Linked DNA regions of Homo sapiens: regions 1 and 2 are each linked to region 3. The links are contacts of gene promoters, found by promoter capture Hi-C in human tissues and cell types (Jung and others, 2019). All regions are on one chromosome and are shown on one strand. The core of a region is centred on a gene start or on the middle of the fragment in contact, and the rest is flanking DNA. Distances in the headings are between cores, read along the strand shown.

Region 1 (4,193 bases), core at 278-2,777, 140 kb before region 3:
GAGTTAACAATCCAGGAGGATAATGACAACCAACTCACGCGCGGCACTGGGTCAGAGTCCTGGGGAAGCGAGGCATGGGTGGGCTGGGAGGACCCTGTACTCATGCTCTCAGGTTAGCATGGGGCAGGGTCTCCACACCCAGAGGCTGAGACGATAGCTGCTAGGCCCCAAGAAGTCAGTGAGCATTTCTGATAGAAGTGGCTGCACAGGCCTGTTTTCTGAAGGTTGCCTCATCTGTGCCCCTCAAGGCAGGTATGCCCTTCAAAGGCATACTTGTTCTTCCCACCTTCCTTTTTTCTTTTTCTTCTTTTGTTTTTTGAGACAATGTCTCACTCTCTCACAGGTGCAGCGCAGTGGGGCAAACACAGCTCACTGCAGCTTCAAACTCCTGGGCTCAAGTATCCTCTCACCTCAGCCTCCCAAATAGCTGGGACTACAGGCATGCGCCACCACGCCTGGCTAATTTTTTTATTTTTTACTTTTTTTGTAGAGACAGGGTCTTGCTTTGTTGCCCAGGCTGGTCTCAAACTCCTGGCCTTAAGTGATCCTCCACCTTGGCCTCCCAAAGCACTGGGACCAATAGGGAGACTCAGGGAAGAGCAGTAGAAACAGCAGGGGAGCATTTGCAGGCCAAGCAGGACGGCCTGGAGGCTGGCTGTGTAAGGAGTGGGGAGGCTGTGGGTGGCAGATGTGGCCAGGAGTCAGAGAGGAAGAAGGGTGCAGAAGAGTCTGGGGAGTGACAACCAGTTACACAGATGGGCTCTGTGCCCACCAGCAGCGATCAGAGAGCAAAGCCAGGCTTTGATACAAAAGCAGTCCTTTTGAGCTGCTACTGGCCGTTTTTGAGAGTGTCAGCAGACTGGCAGGCCCCAGACAGACACTGTCTTGGTGCAGCAGAGACACCTGGCACAGTCAGAGAGACAAGATCTAGAAACACAGCTTAGTGCAATAGCTCTGAGGTGGTGGGATGACCAGGTTGAAGAAATATGCTTGGTGAGCTGAAGGCAAGGTGGCACCATACACCAGGGGATGTACTGGCAGACGGGCCCTGTCCTGTCCTGGGTAATGTCACAGATGACATGGACACTGTGGGCACCGTCAGCTACTCAGAGCCTGAGGAGCATGGACCAAGCTGGAGGCCAGAAACAGGCAAGTCTTGACAGGCCAACACCAGGAAACCGAGTTGGGGTAAATGTCCAGTTCCACATGAGCTTCGGAGGGTCAGAGTGGGGCCAAGGAGCAAGGTGCTCCTCCGGCAAGGCGCTCCTCCAGCAAGGCTACCGCTCAGAACAGCAGCACTGTGCCATGTCACTCCCACATCTCTCCCACAGCATCCACCCAGGGAGGCCCAGCAGGTTTGGTGGCCAGTAACAGACCCTGTGTGGTTTTGCAGTTCTGACAACTGTATTTTTGAAAATGTCTTTGCTCCTGTTTCTAGTTTGAAGATCAAGTGTCACAAAATAGAGACAAAGCGAAAAAGAACCCAGGAACTCTGCAGCTAATCCCCCACACTTCCCTGCAGATGCCTGCCCTTTCCTCTCCAGCTGGCCTGGCGCTTTTCAGAGGCATCCCCTGCCTGGACATTGACTCCAGGAGGGTACCCATTTCACACTCCTGCTGAGGTCAAGTCCCCTTCCTTCCTCCCTTAGACCTAACACACCCGCTGCGGGAGGCTGCAGGCAGGACCCAGGCCCACCTTCAGAACAGCACTGGCTGCTCCCAAAGCCCCCTTCTGATCTCCCTGAGCTGGGCTCTGCTGCCATCCCCAGCATGCCTTCCTGAGCAGCCAGACCCGAATGGCTACTCCTCAGTCTCTGTCTCCTGAAAACAAAACCCTTCGAGCCACTGTCACGAAATGAAAGGAAACTATCACACAAGGAGACAGCCCCCAACATGGAGTAAGGAGCACAGCCTGAGACAAAGAACAGAGAACCCACATGTCACAGTGAGCTCTTCCCCCACACAAGCAAGCCGGGAAGACGAGGGCCTGTCCAGCCAGAGGAGGACAAAGAGCAGACTGGTGTCAGCTCACAAGGGAAGACCCTTGATGGCTGTCCTGCCACAGTCCTGTCCAACATAAGCAACAGGTTCACAAACAGTACAGGCCTATGAGGCGGCCACCAAAGAACCCAAGGCTGCCTGGGTGGTGCTCGCTCTAGCTGAGGAAGGGGGCTGGGGGCCACTCCCTGGTTGCGACCAGCCAGACCTCTGAACACAAGGACTGTTACCGGCTCAGAGCACACAGTCCCTTGCTGTGAACTGGGCTCCAATGCTCTGCCTTTGGCCATGGTCTAGCTGGTTGCCATAGCTATGTCTGTGTACTCAGTCAGGGTTCAACTGGTATCTAGCTTAGACTGAAGCCTCCCAGGGGACCGATTCATCATTACAGGCCCTTGGAGCTCCCCCACTAAGGGGTCTGAGGATGTCCTTACTGTCCAGAACTGTTCCCAGAACACAGTGTGTCTTAATGGCATTGCCCGACCCTGCCTGAGCAGCCAGCAGGGATACATCAAGAAAAGCTCTTCGTGTCTTCATCTCCCAGCACCAAGTGCCCATCCCAGAAACTTGGGAACTCCCTTCACTTTCTGACTGCCACCTTTAATTCTCCAAAGTTCAAATCTTTGCCCCAACTCCCACTGCATCTGTGGCAATTCCTCCCAAAGGGCCTCTGTCTCCCGTTCCCATTCCTACCCCCACGCCCTCGCCAGCTCCCCAGGTCACATGACTGCCAGTGAGCAACTGCCACTGAGTGTGGGAAGCAACCCAGGCCCCTGCTTGCTTTGAGCCTCGCTCCTCACCAGCAGAGCAGGCAGCCTGTCCAGGAGCCCACTGAGGAGCCTGCTCCTGCGCCTGCCCCACACACTCTCCCCAGGGCCCCAGGGATGATGACCTACTACCTGGCACATTGCCTGACTATCCCATCAGGCCTGTTAGGGCCTCCCACCCTGCTTCCACCCAGGCACCCCTGCTGTCGGCTGCACAGAAACCCTGTAGCCACCTCACCCATGTCTGTGGCACTTCCTGGAGGAATCTCTGGTTTCTGTGTGCCAGCCCCACTATACTAAGAACACCCTGAGAGCAGAGACAACGGCGTCCACTTTTGTGTGCAGTGGGCAGTCATCACTGCCAGGCACAATAACTGGCTCTTTTTAACACAAGGAGTGGTACTGTCATGCATTTTGATGGGACACGACGTGCAGAACGGAGAATCAGCGTGGCAGCCATGGGGGAATCCAGGCCTCAAACAGGCACGTCCTGGCAGTGGAGGCCAGGGTGCCTGGGAGAAGGCGTGTGCTGGGGCAGGCAGCTGGGCCTGGCAGGAAGCAGACAGGGGAGGAGGGACCTGGGCTCAAATTCCAACCTAGCCACTCACCAGCTCTGGGTCTTGGGAGAGGCACTCCCTCCCCTAAAGCGTAACCTCTTCATAAAGGAGGGGCTCTGAGAGGCTGTGGCCAGGACGAAGGTGCACAGACAGGGCCAGGCAGTGAGGAGAGGCCCACTGTTGGCCTGGTCTGCAGGGCTTCTGCCCAGCATGGGCCTGTTGTTCCTCACCTCCTTCCTATTCCAAATTGAGAAACTGGCAACAGGAGTCCAGTCCCAGTCCTTGTAATCTGAATGAGACTAAGATAAAGCAAAAAACTGGCAAACTGAGCTTCCTAGGGAAGGAGCACAGGGCATCAAACTTAAAGCCTGCTAAGGCCAGGGAGGCCTGAGGCAAGCTGCCCCGGTCTGCCCTCAACCCATCTGGCAGCGCCTCCCTATCCTTCCTTTGCACAAAGGGTGGGGACAGTGCCGACCTCACGGGTAGCCCTGAGGATGATAGTAGTTAATATTATAAGGCACTGGACATACAGGAAGTGCTAGGTATGCGTTAAAGAAATAAGTCAGGCAACAACCTGCCCAAATGTGCAATAGGATGCATCCCAAAACACCTCCGCCATGTGTTGAGGTTATTGTTGCCCCCTCCTCAGCAGACGATGGCCCAATGAGCATGTGCAGCTCCCTCAGGCAGAGCCACCCTCCCATTGGAGCTCTGAGTCACCTGCAGTGTACCCTGAGGCCAGCTCCACCGCCCGCAAGAAGGACACTCACACAGGCATGTTGATGAGGCATGAACTGGCCTCCCCACCCCAACTCCCGCTCTGCTCTGCTCCACGCCCTGACTCTTCCTTCCACAACCGCCCTGGTTCCCA
Region 2 (3,755 bases), core at 9-2,508, 220 kb before region 3:
TGAGTGCCTGGACAACATAGCAAGACCTTGTTTGTACTAAAAAGAAAAATATTGGCCAGGCACAATGGCTCATGCCTGTAATCCCAGCACTTTGGGAGGCCAAGGCAGGCATATCACGATGTCAGGAGATCGAGACCATCCTGGTCAACACGGTGAAACCCCATCTCTACTAAAAATACAAAAATTAGCTGGGTGTGGTGGTGCACGCCTGTAATCCCAGCACTTTAGGAGGCAGAGGCGGGCAGATCATGAGGTCAGGAGTTCAAGACCAGGCTGAGAAACATGGTGACACCCCGTCTCTACTAAAAATACAAAAAATTAGCCAGGCGTGGTGGTGCATGCCTGTAGTCCCAGCTACTAACGAGGCTGAGGCAGGAGAATCGCTTGAACTTGGGAGGCAGAGATTGCAGTAAGCCGAGATGGAGCCACTGCACTCCAGCCTGGTAACAGAGTGAGAGTCTGTCTCAAAAAAAAAACAAAAACAAAAAACAAAGAAAGAAAAACATTAGCCAGGCATGCAGGCATGGTGGTGTGCACTGTGGTCCCAGCTACTTGGGAGGCCCGGGTCTAGGAGGTTGAGGTTGCAGTGAGCTGTGATCACAGCACTGCACTCCAGCCCAGGCAACAGAATGAGACCCTGTCTCAAAAAAAAGAAAAATTGGTAATGATGATTTACCGGGAAGATGTATAGAGACTATGTATTATCACTAGTATTAACATCAACTGTTGATTCTTTTCTCTTTTTTTTTAAGTGAAAGCAAGTTTATTAAGAAAGTAAAGGAATAGAAGAAGGGCTACTCCATACACAGAGAAGTCGATTCTTTCCTTTTTTCAAATTGATTTTATTTTACTTTAAGACAGGATCTTGTTCTCTCACCCCAGGCTGAAGTACAGTGGCATGATCTAGGCTCACGGCAGCCTCAATCTCTTAGGCTCAAGTGATCCTCCTGCCTCAGCCTCCCAAGTATCTGGGACTACAGGCATGCATCACCACATCTGAATGCTTTTTTTTTTTTTTAATAGAGATGGGTTTTGCCCATGTTGCCCAAGCTGGACATCTTATTTTTTTTAGAAACAGAGTCTCGCTCTGTCACCCCAGGCTGGAGTGCAGTTGGTGCCATCATAGGTCACTGCAGCCTCAACTCCTAGGCCCAAGGAGGGAGCCATTTTCCCTTCTCAGCCTTCTAAGTAGTTAGGACTACAGGCACACCCCACCGTGCCCAGCTATTTCATGTTTTAATGTTTTTGTAGAGACGGGGTCTCACTGTGTTGCCCAGGCTGGTCTCAAGTGCCTGGCCTCAAGAGATCCTCCTGCCTTGGTTTCCCAAAGTGCTGAGATTTCAGGCGTCTCACGCAGGTCCCATGCCTGGCCTCACTTGATTCTTGACCAAATAAGCTATTAATAGGGCAGTTGCCAAGTGGTGGTTCCCTAACTTCATTCTTCCTGTATTGGGTCAGTGGTCGCTCTGCGGGAAGGAAGACTTTTCTCTTTGCTATTTGTTTATTCAGGTGTATCAGTGTGGATTTGGGGCAGGGGTGAGGTTTGTGCATTGTGCAATTGAACAAGTTGTAATACGTCCCTGCTGTCATTGATTTTGATGTCCAGATCGCCCCTGGCCTGGCCAGCAGGAGCTCCTACCTTGGGCCTGTTTCCGTGTCTCCCTCAGGACACCAGCCATGCCCTTTGCTTCCTGTAGCCTCCAGCACACTAGCCCCCTGAAGCGACACTTCTCTCATCAGATGTCTGTGAATGCAGACCCCGCCTCCCAGGAGATCTGGAGGTCAGAAACTCTGCTCCGGGTGAGAGCTGAGCTGGTCTCAACGTCTGTTTCAAAAGAAACTGGTCAGCCATCTTCCACTATATGGGTCAGAGTCCCAGAGGCGGCCGCTTAGCCCAGGGCTGATTCTAAATTGTTGGCATTTTCCTGGTATGACATTTAGAAAACATGAATATAAGTCTGCCCACCCACCTAACTTACTTGTCATTCATGGTGTTTTTCATCCCAGGATCCCCTGTCCATCGGAGTCGTTTCATTTGCCCATTGTGATATAATTGTTGCGGTCTCTTGGTGTCCGTCTCTCGTGTTGCTGGAGATGCTTCCTATGATTACCATCATGTGGATATTAAGCGTTGCCCCAGTAGCACTTTTGTGACACGGAATGGTGAGGGGTTTGTGCAGCCTCCACAGGCCTTCTGTTGATTCAGGGGATCCAAATAGTAGGTGACAGAGTCCCTTGTCTGTCCTGGGGGGCTCCAGCCTCTCACGATGGTGTGGACTGGCTCACTCCCTGAGTGCTATCCACCAGGTCCTGGCTGTGTCTTCTGAGCATAACTTGGAGAGATTTGGCAGGTGCTGCTCCTGACACTGGATCCTAGGACTGACTTGGTAGCCACAGCCTCGCCGTTGACACCTGGGAAGTAGATAAGATAGGATTCTGTCTCCGACCTTGTACATAACTCCTAATATGTGGGGTGCCGTGCTTTTTGAAGCCTCCACACCATTTCACAACAACCTCGGGTGCTAGAATGATAGGGACCATTGTCCCTGGGAGGGGCATGGTCCCCAGAGGGGACCATGATACCCAGATGGCTCTTGGCTGTGTGGACCATGGGATGTGCTGGCTGTGAAGAGGGCAGGAGACCATGACACAAGCTTACAACAGGACAGAACTGGAAGGTTCTGCTGTTTCCTGGACCAAAGCATTAATGCTTTTCGTTTTTTTAATTAAGAAAAAAACTGTAATTGTAAAATATACATAACATAAAATTTACTGTCTTAACCATTTCCAAGTGTACAGCCAGTAGTATTAAATACATTCACGTTGTTGTTATCTGTAGCACACAGTACTTCTTTGTGTGTGACTGGCATGCTTCAGTTAGCATAATGGATTCAAGATTAATCCGTGTTACAGCATGTGTCAGAATTTGCTTCCTTTCCAATCTCCAGAATCTTGCAAAACTGAAACTGAACCGACCAGGCATGAGAGCTCACTCCTGTAATCCTAGCACTTTGGGAGACCAAGGTGGGAAAGATTGCTTGAGGCCAGGAGTTTGAGACCAGCCTCGCCAACATAGTGACACCCCGTCTCTCTCTCTCTTTTTTTTTTTTTTTTTTTTTTTTTTTTGAGACAGAGTCTCACTCTGTCGCTTAGGCTGGAGTGCAGTGGTGCGATCTCAGCTCACTGCAATCCCTGCCTCCCGGGTTCAAGTGATTCTCCTGCCTCAGCCTCTTGAGTAGCTGGGATTACAGGCACCTGCCACGGTGCCTAGCTAATTTTTATATTTTTAGTAAAGACGGGGTTTCACCATCTTGGCCAGGCTGGTCTTGAATTTCTGACTTCATGATGCACCCGCCTCGGCCTCCCAAAGTGCTGGGATTACAGGCATGAGCCACCATGCCTGGCTCCCCATCTCTTTTAATAAAAAAAAAGAAACTGAACAATTAATTCCCCACGCAGCCCCTAGCAACCACTATTCTGCTTTCTGTTTCTATATGTTTGACTCCTAGATCTCATATCTAAAGCATTTTTCTGTAGCACACAGTACTTCTTTGTGTGTGACTGGCATGCTTCACTTAGCATAATGGATTCGAGATTAATCCATGTTACAGCATGTGTCAGAATTTGCTTCCTTTTTAAGGCTGCATAGTGTTCCCTTGTGCGGATGTACCATGTTGTGTTTATCTATTCATCTCTCAGTGAACACTGGAGTTGCTTCTATTTTTATTTTATTATTTATTTATTTATTTATTTTG
Region 3 (3,831 bases), core at 1,141-3,640:
GACATCATGATGTCTCACTCTACAGTCTTCAGCTTGTATCTCCTGTGGATATTCTCTTACATAATCACAGTACTATTATCACATGCAATAAATTTCATATTGATACAATATGACCTAAGATACAGCCCATTTTCAAATTTCCTCTTGTCCCAAACTGCCCTTTATCAATTTTTTTGGATCTATCCCCTAAGCAAGGAACATGCATTGCATTTGACTGTCAAGTTTCTTGAGGACTATAAAGCATTGTGACACACTACAGAAGTGAGGCACAGCTCACAATACACGTTTTGCAGCTGTTTCTAGCTGGCTATAATCTGCCATCACCTCTTTTGAGTGGCAGACTGACAAAATCACAAAATGCTAAAAAAAAAACAAAAACCCAAAGACCCCTTATTCCTCCACATCTTTCACTCTACTGTGCTCTCTTTGTCAACTGCACCCTTCTAAATACAACCATGGGGTGAGGTGGTTGCGGTAGAAAAACAAAATGAGGAACAGAGTTCACAGTCTGTAAAAGGAGGGATCTGGGTCCCATTTGGCTGCAGAAGTTCCCAGGGCCAATTCCTTGCTGAGCCCCCAGATTCTCTAAATCTCCAGGACTCTCCATGAAGGCCCCATGCCAGGGGCTGGGTACAGAGGAAAGCACACAGGGATGTGTCCCCTACCGCCACTCTTAACCAAGTGCTGCAATCCAGCCCTTCCTGAGCTGCTCCACGTGCCCCTGTCTGATTCCAGTCCCAGTAAACCAACCGTGCAAACATCCTGCACCAACCCCTGGCCAGCACGTGGATAGGCAAAGCGACCCCATGTGAGCCGTCAACTACTTTCTCAGATTCCACTAAAACCACTCCTCAGAGCTCCCAGCACAGCGCTGGGCAGAGAGATCCCCAGCAACTGACCCACTGAATTGGACTGGGCGAGACATTCAATAGAGCACATCTCGAGGGCACACCTCGGGCAACATCTGGACTCTTCACTTGGAGCTGTTCCCACTGCCCAGAGCTTCCTGAGGACTGGCCAGCAGGTACCCGGGTGAAGGTCTGTGGAAGGCTGACGATCCAGGGCTGGGGAGGGAATGTGCCAACCCTCTTCATAAAGAAGGAAGAACACACAGCCACTCACCTTGGACCTGGCTTCGGGAAGACCCCAACCCGATATATCCTCGAGATTCTCTTTCAGGGAAAGAGCAGGATCCTGAGAGGAAAGAGCTGGCGAAGGAGAAATGAGTCAAGGTCACGGCTACCAGGCTCACGGCTGAGCTTAAAGCCCACCTGTCGTGGCACAAGTGAGAATCAGAGAGGAGGCAGAACCTGCCAGCAAGGCCAGGTGGGGAACGAGCCCCAGTAGCTAGCACCAACAGAAACAGCATCGAGGAATAATCTGCCTGTGTCTCAGACACTCCAATTCATGACGAAAAGAGCTGCTACCCCCAATCAAGCACGTCTGAGTGGGAACAAATGATTGGGCGCGGGGAAGAAAGAAGCAGGAGGCCAGGAGCGATGGCTCACGCCTGTAATCCCAGCACTTTGGGAGGCCGAGGCGGGCGGATCGCTTGAGCTTAAGACCAGCCTGGGAAACATGGCAAAACCCCGTCTCTACTAAAAATACAAACATTAGCCGGGCGTGGTGGCGCGCGCCTGCAATCCCAACTACTTGGGAGGTTGAGGCGGGAGAATAGTTTGAACCCGGGAAGCAGAGGTTGCAGTGAGCGGAGATCAAGCCATTGCACCACTCCCGCCTGGGTGACAGAGTGAGATTCCATTTAAAAAAAAAAAAAAAGATGCTGGATGCTTCTGGGAAACTGGCCTGATCTCTCTGAGTGTCAATATCCTCAAGTGCAAATCCACAGACATACTGACTACAAGAGTGAAGCTGTACCTGTCTTCTCGGGCTCCGGGGCAGGGATCTCCATGGCCTCCACGGCAGCCTCCCCAGGAGGAGTGGGCAGCTGTGTAGCCTCCAGGATCCAGGGCAGGCCCTGAAGAGCGAGTACTGCTCCTGGGGCTGAGGGGCCTGCAGCGGAGCCCCGCGGGGCGGCCACGCGCTCACAGCTGCACGATCACACGCACGGAGCCCCCTCCCCGCGCCCGGCTGAGGTGGGGTTCAGGCCGGCTCCGCAGATACCCACTCCCCACACCAGGCTCAGCCCCATGCTCGGCGCACTCACGCCCCGGCACACCCCCGCCACACGCTCCTCCCGGCGAACCCGCGCTCGGAGACCAGGGCCAGGCCTAAGGTTCCGCGGCCAGGAGCCATCGGACGCGGAGCGACCAGCGGACAGGTCCCGAAGCGGACAGAGACCGCCGACGGTCTGAGGGACCGGCAAGTGGACAGACCGGACTCCCACAAAAGGACTGCGACTGCCACAAAGAGCAGCAGGCGGCCGCTGCGGGAAAGCGCGCCTGCGCGAAATAGGCGCAAACTACACCTCCCGGGAGCGTTTGCGCCGCGCAGGCGTCAGACTCCATTTCCTAGAGCGAGTTCGGGCCGGTGCTTGCGTCCCGACGCGAACGAGTATCTAGCACATCCTTCTAGGAAATGTAGTTCCTGGGCCCACAGCCGGGAGCTCCGGCACCCACCATGCTCTTGCGGGCGGATGTCGCTGTGTATCTCCGTGTGCGGATCAGTGTAGTGCCGCTGCATGGGTGTCTAATTGCGAGGATACTGGGAGGGCGGTGTCCAGGAACTAGAATTTGTCCTGTTAGTTCGTCCACGTCCCCACGTAGCTGGGAGTCGGGTGGGTTCCTGCCCACATCTGTCTGCAGGAAAGACTCAAGCCCCTGGTCTTACGGATATTGGGAGTGGTGGGTCTGGCCTCGAGGGGTTTTCCAGGGGCCCTGCCCCCACTCCCCCTTCTCGAGCCACATATCTGAGGCCCATGGGCGCGGGTCCCCAGAGGTGGGAGAGCCTTGGCCTAGTCCCCCCAGAGGGTCCTGTCCACAGTTCACCCCTGGGGCGGGAAAGGAAGGTCTGGGTGGCGGCCCAGTCCTGGCGGCACAGAGCTCTGCCATGAACACAGTGATGACGCCAGCGACAGAAACATTGAATATGTACTGAGCACCAACCAAACGCCAGGCCTACTTCAAGAGCTTGGAGTACATTTTTCTGGCAGAATGCTCACAGCAGTCCAGGGAGGTTTGCTAACTACTGTCATCCCATTTGGGAGATGAGGAAGTTGTGGTACAGGTGCGTGGGGTAACGTGTCGCAAATCACACAGCCAGAAGTAGGAATCCAGCACCGAAGTGCATTGCCACATTCCTACTGAGAGGTGGTCCGGGGTGGTGCACACTCCAAACCCTTCAGCCTCCCACCTTAACCGCAGCTTAGGCTTGGCCACAGGCTCTCACGTGACACCTGTCCACTGCCCACATCAGCACAGCTGTGCCCAGACCTCCCCTGCCCAGGGCAGCGCCCGTGTTTGATTTTGTTTTGAGACTGGGTCTCACTCTGTCGCCCAGGCTGGAGTGCAGTTGCACAATCACGGCTCACCGTAGCCTCAGTCTCTCGGGCTCAAACTATTCTCCCACCTCAGCCTCCGGAGTAGCTGGGACTTACAGACATGCACCACCACGCCCGGTTAATTTTTATATTCAGCGCCCATTTTTAATAGCAACCCAGTGAGAGGGGACAGCGTGCTGGCAGTCCTCACAGCCCTTGCTCGCTCTCGGCGCCTAGTCGGCCTTGGCGCCCACTCTGGCCGCGCTTGAGGAGCCCTTCAGCCCACCGCTGCACTGTGGGAGCCCCTTCCTGGGCTGGCTGCGGCCGGAGCCGGCTCCCTCAGCTTGCCGAGAGGTGTGGAGGGAGAGGCGCGGGCGGGAACCGGGACTGCG

What was found. Contacts are between HindIII fragments. The study calls those that stand out against the background at their distance.
Region 1: a contact is called between a fragment that was not itself captured here and the fragment with the promoter of ZNF74 in region 3, in 1 of the 25 tissues and cell types used here (dorsolateral prefrontal cortex).
Region 2: a fragment that was not itself captured here is called in contact with the fragment with the promoter of ZNF74 in region 3 in 2 of the 25 tissues and cell types used here (lymphoblastoid cells and mesenchymal stem cells).

The regions. Positions count from the first base shown.
Region 1 is chr22:20,530,646-20,534,838 of GRCh38, reverse strand. All of the region lies in intron 1 of MED15 (mediator complex subunit 15), which reads right to left. Among named protein-coding and RNA genes, the nearest start is that of MED15, 25 kb to the right of the region's middle. RefSeq lists an enhancer at 3,692-4,193. The HindIII fragment of the contact is 8,855 bases long and covers 1-4,193 here.
Region 2 is chr22:20,614,355-20,618,109 of GRCh38, reverse strand. It overlaps the pseudogene SMPD4P1. Among named protein-coding and RNA genes, the nearest start is that of MED15, 110 kb to the right of the region's middle. The HindIII fragment of the contact is 4,283 bases long and covers 1-3,399 here.
Region 3 is chr22:20,392,710-20,396,540 of GRCh38, reverse strand. It overlaps ZNF74 (zinc finger protein 74), which reads right to left and starts at 2,390. Exons shown (of 5, transcript NM_003426.4): 1 at 1,879-2,390; 2 at 1,123-1,208. The coding sequence starts at 1,912. RefSeq lists enhancers at 2,210-2,349, 2,820-2,889, 2,291-3,280. The HindIII fragment of the contact is 17,508 bases long and covers 1-3,831 here.